Regions from separate parts of the Homo sapiens genome. Here regions 1 and 3 are each linked to region 2. Evidence: promoter capture Hi-C in 16 types of primary human blood cells and fetal thymus (Javierre and others, 2016). All regions are on one chromosome and are shown on one strand. Each heading gives the region's core, a stretch centred on a gene start or on the middle of the fragment in contact. The rest is flanking DNA. Distances are from core to core; before and after follow the strand shown. Region 1 overlaps SYN3 (synapsin III). Region 2 holds the start of TIMP3 (TIMP metallopeptidase inhibitor 3). Region 3 overlaps SYN3 (synapsin III).

What was found. Contacts are between HindIII fragments. The CHiCAGO score rates a contact against its expected background, and 5 or more counts as called.
Region 1: a fragment that was not itself captured here is called in contact with the fragment with the promoter of TIMP3 in region 2 in 3 of 17 cell types (M2 macrophages, monocytes and M0 macrophages); the score reaches 6.8 in M2 macrophages.
Region 3: a fragment that was not itself captured here is called in contact with the fragment with the promoter of TIMP3 in region 2 in 4 of 17 cell types (monocytes, megakaryocytes, M2 macrophages and 1 more); the score reaches 10.1 in monocytes.

The regions. Positions count from the first base shown.
Region 1 is chr22:32,699,158-32,701,979 of GRCh38, reverse strand. The region is part of intron 6 of SYN3 (synapsin III); the gene reads left to right. Among named protein-coding and RNA genes, the nearest start is that of TIMP3, 100 kb to the left of the region's middle. The HindIII fragment of the contact is 1,158 bases long and covers 766-1,923 here.
Region 2 is chr22:32,800,333-32,803,037 of GRCh38, reverse strand. It overlaps TIMP3 (TIMP metallopeptidase inhibitor 3), which reads right to left and starts at 1,333. Exons shown (of 5, transcript NM_000362.5): 1 at 916-1,333. The coding sequence starts at 1,036. The region is part of intron 6 of SYN3 (synapsin III); the gene reads left to right. The HindIII fragment of the contact is 16,798 bases long and covers 1-2,705 here.
Region 3 is chr22:32,680,384-32,683,124 of GRCh38, reverse strand. All of the region lies in intron 6 of SYN3 (synapsin III), which reads left to right. Among named protein-coding and RNA genes, the nearest start is that of SYN3-AS1, 110 kb to the right of the region's middle. The HindIII fragment of the contact is 9,004 bases long and covers 1-2,741 here.

The sequences.
Region 1 (2,822 bases), core at 95-2,594, 100 kb after region 2:
TCACACACACAAAAATAAGTTCCTCAGTATGGTTTTCTTTGTGTTTTTTCTTCTTATTTCAGGTTCATTGAGCTTCTTGGGTTTAAAATTTCCATTGTTTGGAAACATTTTTTTCATTAATATTTTCATAATTTTTTCTGTACTCCCCTCTCTTCTTCTGGGATTCCAATAACACATAATGTCAGACTGTTTGCTATTGTTCCACAGCTCACTGCGGCACTGTTTGTTTTGTTTTGTTTTTCTGTGCTTTATATTGGGTAGATTCTATTGCTACAGCTTCAACTTCAGTTGTCTTCTATAGTATATAATTTGCATTTAATTTCACTTAAATGTATTTTTCATTTCAGATATTATATGTTTTATCTCTATAAATTCTATGAGCATCCTTTTACATCTTTAACCTCTTTCTTCATCAGCTTCATGTTTTTCTTTATATCCTTGGACATATTTGTAAGACTTAATAGCAGCTTTTTAATGGTCCTTGTCTACAAATTCAACCTTCTTATAATTTCTTGATCTGATTCTGTTGATTCATTTTTCTCCTGGTTATGGGTTATATTTTTCTGCTTTCTTACATACCTGGTAATTTTTTACTGGATGCTGGGTATTGTGATTTTTATGTTCTTAGGTGGTGGATTTTGTTGTGTGTATTTCAAGAATACTAGATTTTGTTCTGATGAGCAGTTAAGTAATTGCATCAGTGGGAGGGCAGTTTCTGTAACAGCTAATTATTCATGGATGGAATCACAAGTCCTCATTGAAGCTTTTTAAGCAAGAGTGTGACTCAATCAACTGTGTGTGTTTCTTTAAAAATCAGTCTTATTATTACTCTGCAGAGAACAGATTAGAAACAACAGTGGATTCTAGAAGGCTAATTCTGAGTCTGTTGAGAAAAGTGATCATGTTGACTTGCTTTCAGGGAAGCAGCAGTTAAGATGGGGCATATTTAAAATATGTTTAGAATTTATAGGACTTAGGGATTGATTGAATGAATATGAGGAGTTAACGAGGGAGAAGTAGTTATCGAGGATGATTCCCATTTCTGGAATGAGCAACTGAGTAAATGATGGTGTCACTTATTCTAACAGAACAGTGGAAATTTGGGGTGAAAAACCATGAGATCTGTTTTGAAGATGCGTTACCTATGAGACATCCAAGTGGTTGATGTTAGGCAGGCTGCTGGTCTGAAGTTCAATACAGAAATCTGGGCTGAGGCTGCTTCCTATTACATGGTGTTTAAAGCTATTTTTCATTTACAGCCTAGAAGCACTGGCCATATGAGTGCTTGTCTAATCCCCTAGAATTGTGAGGTCTTAGAGGGCTGGCTTGATGTGTTTTCCTCTTGTGTTGGCTGATGCATTGGTTGGCACGTGACCGGTGCTTAGTGAGTGTTTATGAAAGGGACAATAGCTGTTGGGGACTCCTTTTTTCATGTTTCTGAGTTTCCCCTTGCCTCCTGGTTGTCTAAAATGTTGCCTTAAATTTCATTGTTCTTGTTTGTTTTTCTAGTCCAGGCAGACTTTTCAAATTAGCATGTTAGTCATTTGTGGAGGGTCATGACCCTCCCTTGTTTACAATAGGGCCGTATTATGTCAGCTCAGAGATCCTATCCTGGAGCTGGAGTTGGGACCAGATAATGCAGGAGCCACATCCCTTCCAGGGAGGCTGCTGTCCAAGGCTTGGGCTACTTGGGCAAAATCTCTCAGATTCCCAAGGGATACTTTAAGCCTGTGGAATTTCACAGACTTCACATGAGCTTAAGACTCTTATAGTCTCCATAGTCAATCCCTGAGTTAACCTGAAAGTTGCCCAAAGGAGGGAGGAGTCAAGCCTATTTTAAAAAGAGGAAGCATCTGAAAGCCTTGGAATTCAGAGACCGTATACAAAATTTCAGGCAGAAATTTTCGATTGTTGGAACAAGCTTTGTTCTAGGAGCAGAGAACCTGAGTTCCGGGCCTGAGATTCATTGTATAATATTGAGAGAACAACTTCCCTTCTCTGGTCCCATTATCCCCCATCTAAAACTAAGAAGATTGGATTCGATGACCTCAAAGTGCTCTTCTATTTATTACATTCAGAGGAATTCTATGTCCTGGGCGGTATGAGTCATAGACCTTGCCTCAAGGTGCTTAAAATTCTAGAACTGAGATGAGAGGTAGACTCTGATATTCCCATTAAGACAGACACCCTGTTTCCTACAAATGCACTTGTATACAAATCTCTCTAGAGGAGAGGCCCTGTAGATGAAAAACAGAATCTTACTTTGGACTTCACAAGTAAAACAGCTTTTAGAATTTTACAGCTTTATCCAGAAATGAATCTTGTATCTTTTTTGTCTATCCTCATCTTTTGAAGGTAAACAAATTGGGCCCCGAGAGCAATGTGACTTGGTCAAGGTCACACAGTGAGTCCATGGTAGAGCCTAACTCAGCACCTACCCCCATCCCTGCACACACACCACCCTAAATCTCATCAAAACTGTTTCTCCACCACTCTCTCCCTTTTGGCACCACCTCCTGTCTCTGCAAGCTCTGCTGTCTCTGCAGTGGAACATTCCTGCACAGAGGGGATTAAAAGAGCAGGGGTGGAATGCTAAGCCTCCCTGCCCATTGGCAAGAGCATTTCTCCTGAACTGAGCCCAGCAGGGTTCAGGGGAGCCCAACGGCCCATGTGGAGGTCTGGGTTGTCAGAACCAACTTCAGCCTACATGCCAGGGGCTGTCCACACCCTGCCCTCCATCACGTAAAGCCCCCCAAAACAAGTACTCCATGGTGGGGGCACTGTGGAGTTTGGGTGTTGTCCTGGAGTCTTTCTGGGCCAAC
Region 2 (2,705 bases), core at 84-2,583:
CCAGACAAGCCTCCCAGGATGCTCTCGGGGCCCTCCATACACACTAAGGAGTAGGAGGTCTCTTTACAGGGTCTCTCTACTCAAGACACTAAGTCCAGTCTGGAACTGTCACCGTGATGTGACCCTTGGCAGGTTTGTTCTTTTGGTGACAAATCTGTTTTCCACTACCCATTCTCCCCCTCCCCACACACATTCAAGGGGGAAAAAAATAGCCTTCCTGTGAATTTTCACAGCTATGTGGTGAGTGACCCCTCGCACCTTCTGCTGGCTATCAACACTCTCAAACACAGTGCCTCCAGGGCGTGGGTCAATGCCACAGCTTTCTCCTCATTTTCCCCCTTAAATCCACCCAAACTTGGCAGTCCCAGAAGCTCGGTTAGCGCTTGCCTGGGAAGCCTGCAGCTGGGTTGGGTCTCAGTGAAAAGAATGAATTTCATAGGCGCAGGAGATGATGCAGACTCGGAGTACTCCAAGTTTCTCCTGCAACTTTCCGTGCACATGGCGGGCAACTTTTTTTTTTTTTTTTAACTATTCAATTTCCCAGCACTTTAGTTAGCATTCCAAGTTTTGGGAACCCTTTCCCCACCCTTCTCTTCTAGCCCTTCCTCCGTTAGTAGTGAATGGGGACATTTTCCAGATGTCAAAAGGACCGGTAGGAACCTCACGACCTAAGTTAGGAAAGCAAAGGCGGCCAGGGGCTCCCTCAGCCACTGTGAGTTTCCTCTGCAGGGCATCTTCCCCTCTCAGCTATGCCAGCGCCCCCGCCCAAGGACATCGAGTTTCTCCACTCCGCCCCAACCCCGTCTGCCCCTCTCCTGGGGCAGAGGAAAGGAGTGGGGCTCGCCCTGCCTCCCTAAGCAGCGCTGCAGTCCTGGCTGCAGCGTGGGGCTCGGGCGGGGCACCAGGAGCGCTTACCGATGTCGGAGTTGCAGAAGGCGTCCTGGGGGTGGCTGGGCGAGCATGTGCACGCCTCGGCGCCCCAGTCCCCCAGGCTCCAGCTGCCCAGGAGCACGATGAGCCCGAGCCAAGGGGTCATTGCCGCTGCTGCCGCCGCTGCCGGGGCTGCTGCTCGCCTCTCCAAAGTTGCCGTGCGCGCCGCCGGCGGGGCTGCTGCAGCCCGAGCTCGCTCGCCCGCCGGGCCGTGCGGGGCAACCTTGGCCTCCGGCGCGCTGCCCTCCGAGTGCCCGGCGGGACGGGATGGGGCGCAGCGAGGCTGCCTCGGCGCTGGCGCAGGACTCGGCGGGCGGCCTCCCGGCGAAGGAGCAGGAGCTGGAGGAGCAAGAGGAGGAGGAGAAGCCGTCTGAGCGCCCGCCGCCTGCCTGCTGCCCGCTCTGCGCCGCTGCCTGGGCGGCCGAGTGATATAGCGCTGGGCCCCCGGGGACCCCGCCTCGGGCTGTTGGGGCCCGCCCCCTCAGACCAATGGCAGAGCCGCATTACCTCATCGGCCCTCCAAAAAGGGGGCGGGGCCGGGGGCAAGGGGTAACGGGGCGGGGCCGCCCCCGGATCGTTCAGATCCTTATAGGGAATAATGCCGCCGTGGGCACGCGAGTGGGTGGGCTGGGGCGCGCCCGGGACCGGTGCTTGCCGCTGGGTCCTCGGAGCGGAGCCCTCGTGCCCCTTCTCGTCTGCGCCCTGGCCCCACGCCCACCTGGGCCACTGGGTGTCTCTGACCCAAACCAGAACCAACTAACACCCACCCACCCCAGCAGGACCGCTTCCACAGGTGAGGGGTGGCCATGTCCTAGAGACCTTGACTGTGCTTGGTGGAACCAGCGGGGGAATGCTAACTGCTACCCCTCCAGTTTCTCTGGAGAGAGCAGGCACAGAGGAGAAAGACCCAAACTCTCTCTCTTTCTCTCTCTCTCTGGTTCTTACTCTCTGGGATATGGGAAGCCATCTGCTGTTTGCAGCTGGCTATGATATATGATAGAAGACTGTTTTCTGTGCTCTCCCAGAGCAAACGGGGTTCTGTATTCATTCAACAAACACGGTTCAGGATGCTGGGTTAAGCAACACAAAGCCCTTGCCCCCGTGGACATCCATGAATGCACAGGGTGATTTTCTGTGATGCTAGGGCTATGAAGAAAACAAAACAGAGTTCTGGGTTGGACATGACTGGGGAGGGCCTGCTCTCTCTGCGATAGTAAGGGAAGGGCTCCCTGAAGTGCCATCCTCGCTGAGAAGTGGACAAAGACAAGGATCAGCTCTGGGGCAAGCCACAGGAGAGAGGTACCAGGCAGGGGGAACAGCAAGTGCAAAGACCCTGGGCATGTTTGAAAGACAGAAAGTAGAAAGGCAAGAGGAAGTGGTTCCCTGCCCATGGCTGACAGAGCTCCACCCTTCAGCAAGGGATTTGGGGGTGAGCTGATCCAAAACTGTAGTAAAACCAGGAGAACGATCCAGGATCCTAGACGACTAGCTATAATAGATGATTGCAGATAACTAACACAATTACTATCCTTATTATTGACATCTTGATTCTGCTTTGTATTTTTAAAAGCAGGATTCTGTATCTCACCGTATTATAGCTCTCACAATAATCTTTGTGGGTAGGAAAAGCAAGCACAAGTATCACTCCCACTTTCCAGATGAGGAACCGGCACAGAAAGATGGGATGATTGGTGGCCAGCCAGGAACTCGTCACCCCTTTCCACTGCTCCTTCCCATCTGAAGAGAGACATGCATTTCCCTGAACGTCAGCAGCT
Region 3 (2,741 bases), core at 214-2,713, 120 kb after region 2:
GGCATTTTATTGGCTGAGCTTCTTGCTCCTCTGCAACCCGCATCACACCTATTTGTCCACTCTTGCATGGATGACCTTCCAGTTCTTGGAGGAAAGACCCTAATGTAGATATTTTCAAGAGCTTGGCTCTTCCAGGAAAAGTGGCCACAGGTGCCTGGCTTCAGGTGCCCTATGCAAATGTTTATTCTTAACGGAATGTGTCACAGCTAGCCTCACCAAGGCACCTTCCAAGGGCATATCTGCTAAATGATAACACATGGGTACCACAGGAGAGCTCTGTCTGGGCTTCTCCAAGAGTTTCTTCGTGTGCCTTTACAAGGGCATGTGCCTACCTGCAGTCCAGGCATCCACCCTATTGGTGAAAAATAACATCACCCAGAATAAATACTGATTCGTCAAACGCTGTGCAATAAAAACCTTCTCTTCTTTCTACTCAAAGCCTCATTTACATCCAGCGATGTCAAACTACTTAAACAACTTAACTCCAATCCAAGTGCTGGGACTAATAAAGATCAGATGGGGTCTAAAGAGATAATGTATATGAAAGCCTAGCACCCTCTGGGTGCTCCGTAAATGCTACTGCCCTTCCTCCCTGGCTTCCAGGGCCTTCCACCCTAGAAGGGGATGAGTCGTCCTACATCTAATTCCTGGGTGACTGCAGTAATCTCCAGACTGGTGTCCCTGCTTCCTCCCTTGCCCTTATCCTTATAGTCTATTCTCAATACAGCAGCCAGAGGCATCTTGCAAAATGTAAGTCAAATCATGTCACTCCTCTGTTCAAGATCCTCAAAAGATCTTGGCTCTCAACCAGTCTCTCAGTCTCTACACGATTGATATTTGGAGCTGGATAATTCTATTTTGTGGGGGCAGACTTGTGCATTGTAGGATGTTTTGCAGAATCCCTGACCTTTGCCTACTAGAGGCCAGTAGCATCCCACCCCCACTCCCAAGTTGTGACAACCAAAAATGTCTCCAGACATTGCCCATATCCCCTGGGGTCAGAATGGCCCCTGGTTGAGAACCACTCCTCTCCACCCTCTGCAACCCCTGCTGCCCCTCATCTCCCGTGCCCTCTCCTCCCTCACTTCACCAAGCTACATCGTCTTTCCCCAATCCCACATGACTAACTCTCTTACCTCTGCTAAGTCTCGGCTCAAACATCACCATCATAATGTGGCTTCGTGACAGCTGTATTTGAAATTGTGTCCACCATCCCATACCTCCAGGACTCTCTATCCCACTTGCCCTGCAGTTCATTTCATACCTCTTTTTACTTTCTAGTACTTCATAACTTGTTTTATCTATTGATCGTTTTTAGTATGTCTCCCACAACTAGAATATAACTATCTACATGCCTTCATGGGCTTTTGTTTGCTATATCCACTAATGTGTTCTGAGTGCTTAGAACACTGCCTGGTGCATAGGAAGTGTTTGCAAAATATTTGTTGAATAAAGTGAGGTACTATTGTGAATGGTGGATTGAGTCAGCAGCTGCAACAGCCAAATAGGGTGGAGAAAGCACTGTCTTCCTGGTCAGGTGAGCTGAAGTCCAGTCTTGCCCTGGTCACATACTGACCAGGAACCTCAGCCTCTCTGAGTCGTGGTTTTCTCATATGGTAAATGGGATCATATGTGTGTTCCATGGCTGTTGAGAAGATTAGAGGACATGTAGGTGAAAGTGTATCTAGAACAAATCCAGGCACAAGGTAAATATCCAGACATTGCCAAATATCCCCTGGGGCCAAAATGGCCCCTGGTTGAGAACCATTCCTCTATACCCTCAAACCTGCCAGGCAAGCCATTTGGCACTATCCCTGACCTTTGTCTACTAACTCGATGCCAGTAGCATCCCACCCCCCACTCCCAAGTTGTAACAACCAAAAATGTCTCCAGACGTTGCCAAATATCCCTGGAGGTCAAAATGGCCCCCTGGTTGAGAACCACTTCTCTACACCCTCTGCAACCCCTGTCGACTCTGCCACCTCATCTCCCATACTCTCTCCTCCCTCACTTCACCAAGCTACATCACCCTTCTTGCCATTCCTTGAGCCTGCCAGGCAAGCTCCCACCTCCCTTATCATGGCAAGTGATATGTGAAACATAGAAAAGATTGATTGTGCTGAGCTTTAAATAAGAAGTAGAATTTAACAAGTGAAGATATGTGGAGAAGGGGAGGAATCACATCTTGCTGAGTTTCACAGCTTTCTTCTAGAGCATAGAAAAAAGTCAGCCCAGCCTGCATTTCTGGAGCTGGGACATTTGATGTTAGCAATAGCCTAGATATATGGAAGGAACCTCAAGAGAGAGGAAAAACTAAGTTTGGAAATCCTTTGATTTTTGACTTTAGATGTTGACTTTGAAATATGCCATGAACATAAAAGAGAGGATAATGAATGGAGTTGGACTTGTAGCTTGGCACTGAAATTTACAACTCTGAACAAATAGGAAATTCTGAATCCAAAGGATGAAACCTACTAGCAAGTTGAGTACACAGGATTGCCTTCTGGAACAGGGAGTCAACCTAGATCTAAGGAGGCTTTGTTGGGCAAACCAGGTAAACCAGTTGGCCAGTCTGTGCAAGCAACGGTGTGAGAGTGCTGTCAGCCAGATCCCATCCCATTCAACAAGGTGTCTTGATTTGAAAAACACACTGAACTAGATGCTGTGGAATACAGACAAAATTAGAGCATGACCTCTGTCCTCAAAGAGTTGACAGTCTTCTGGGGAAGACAAACAAGGGA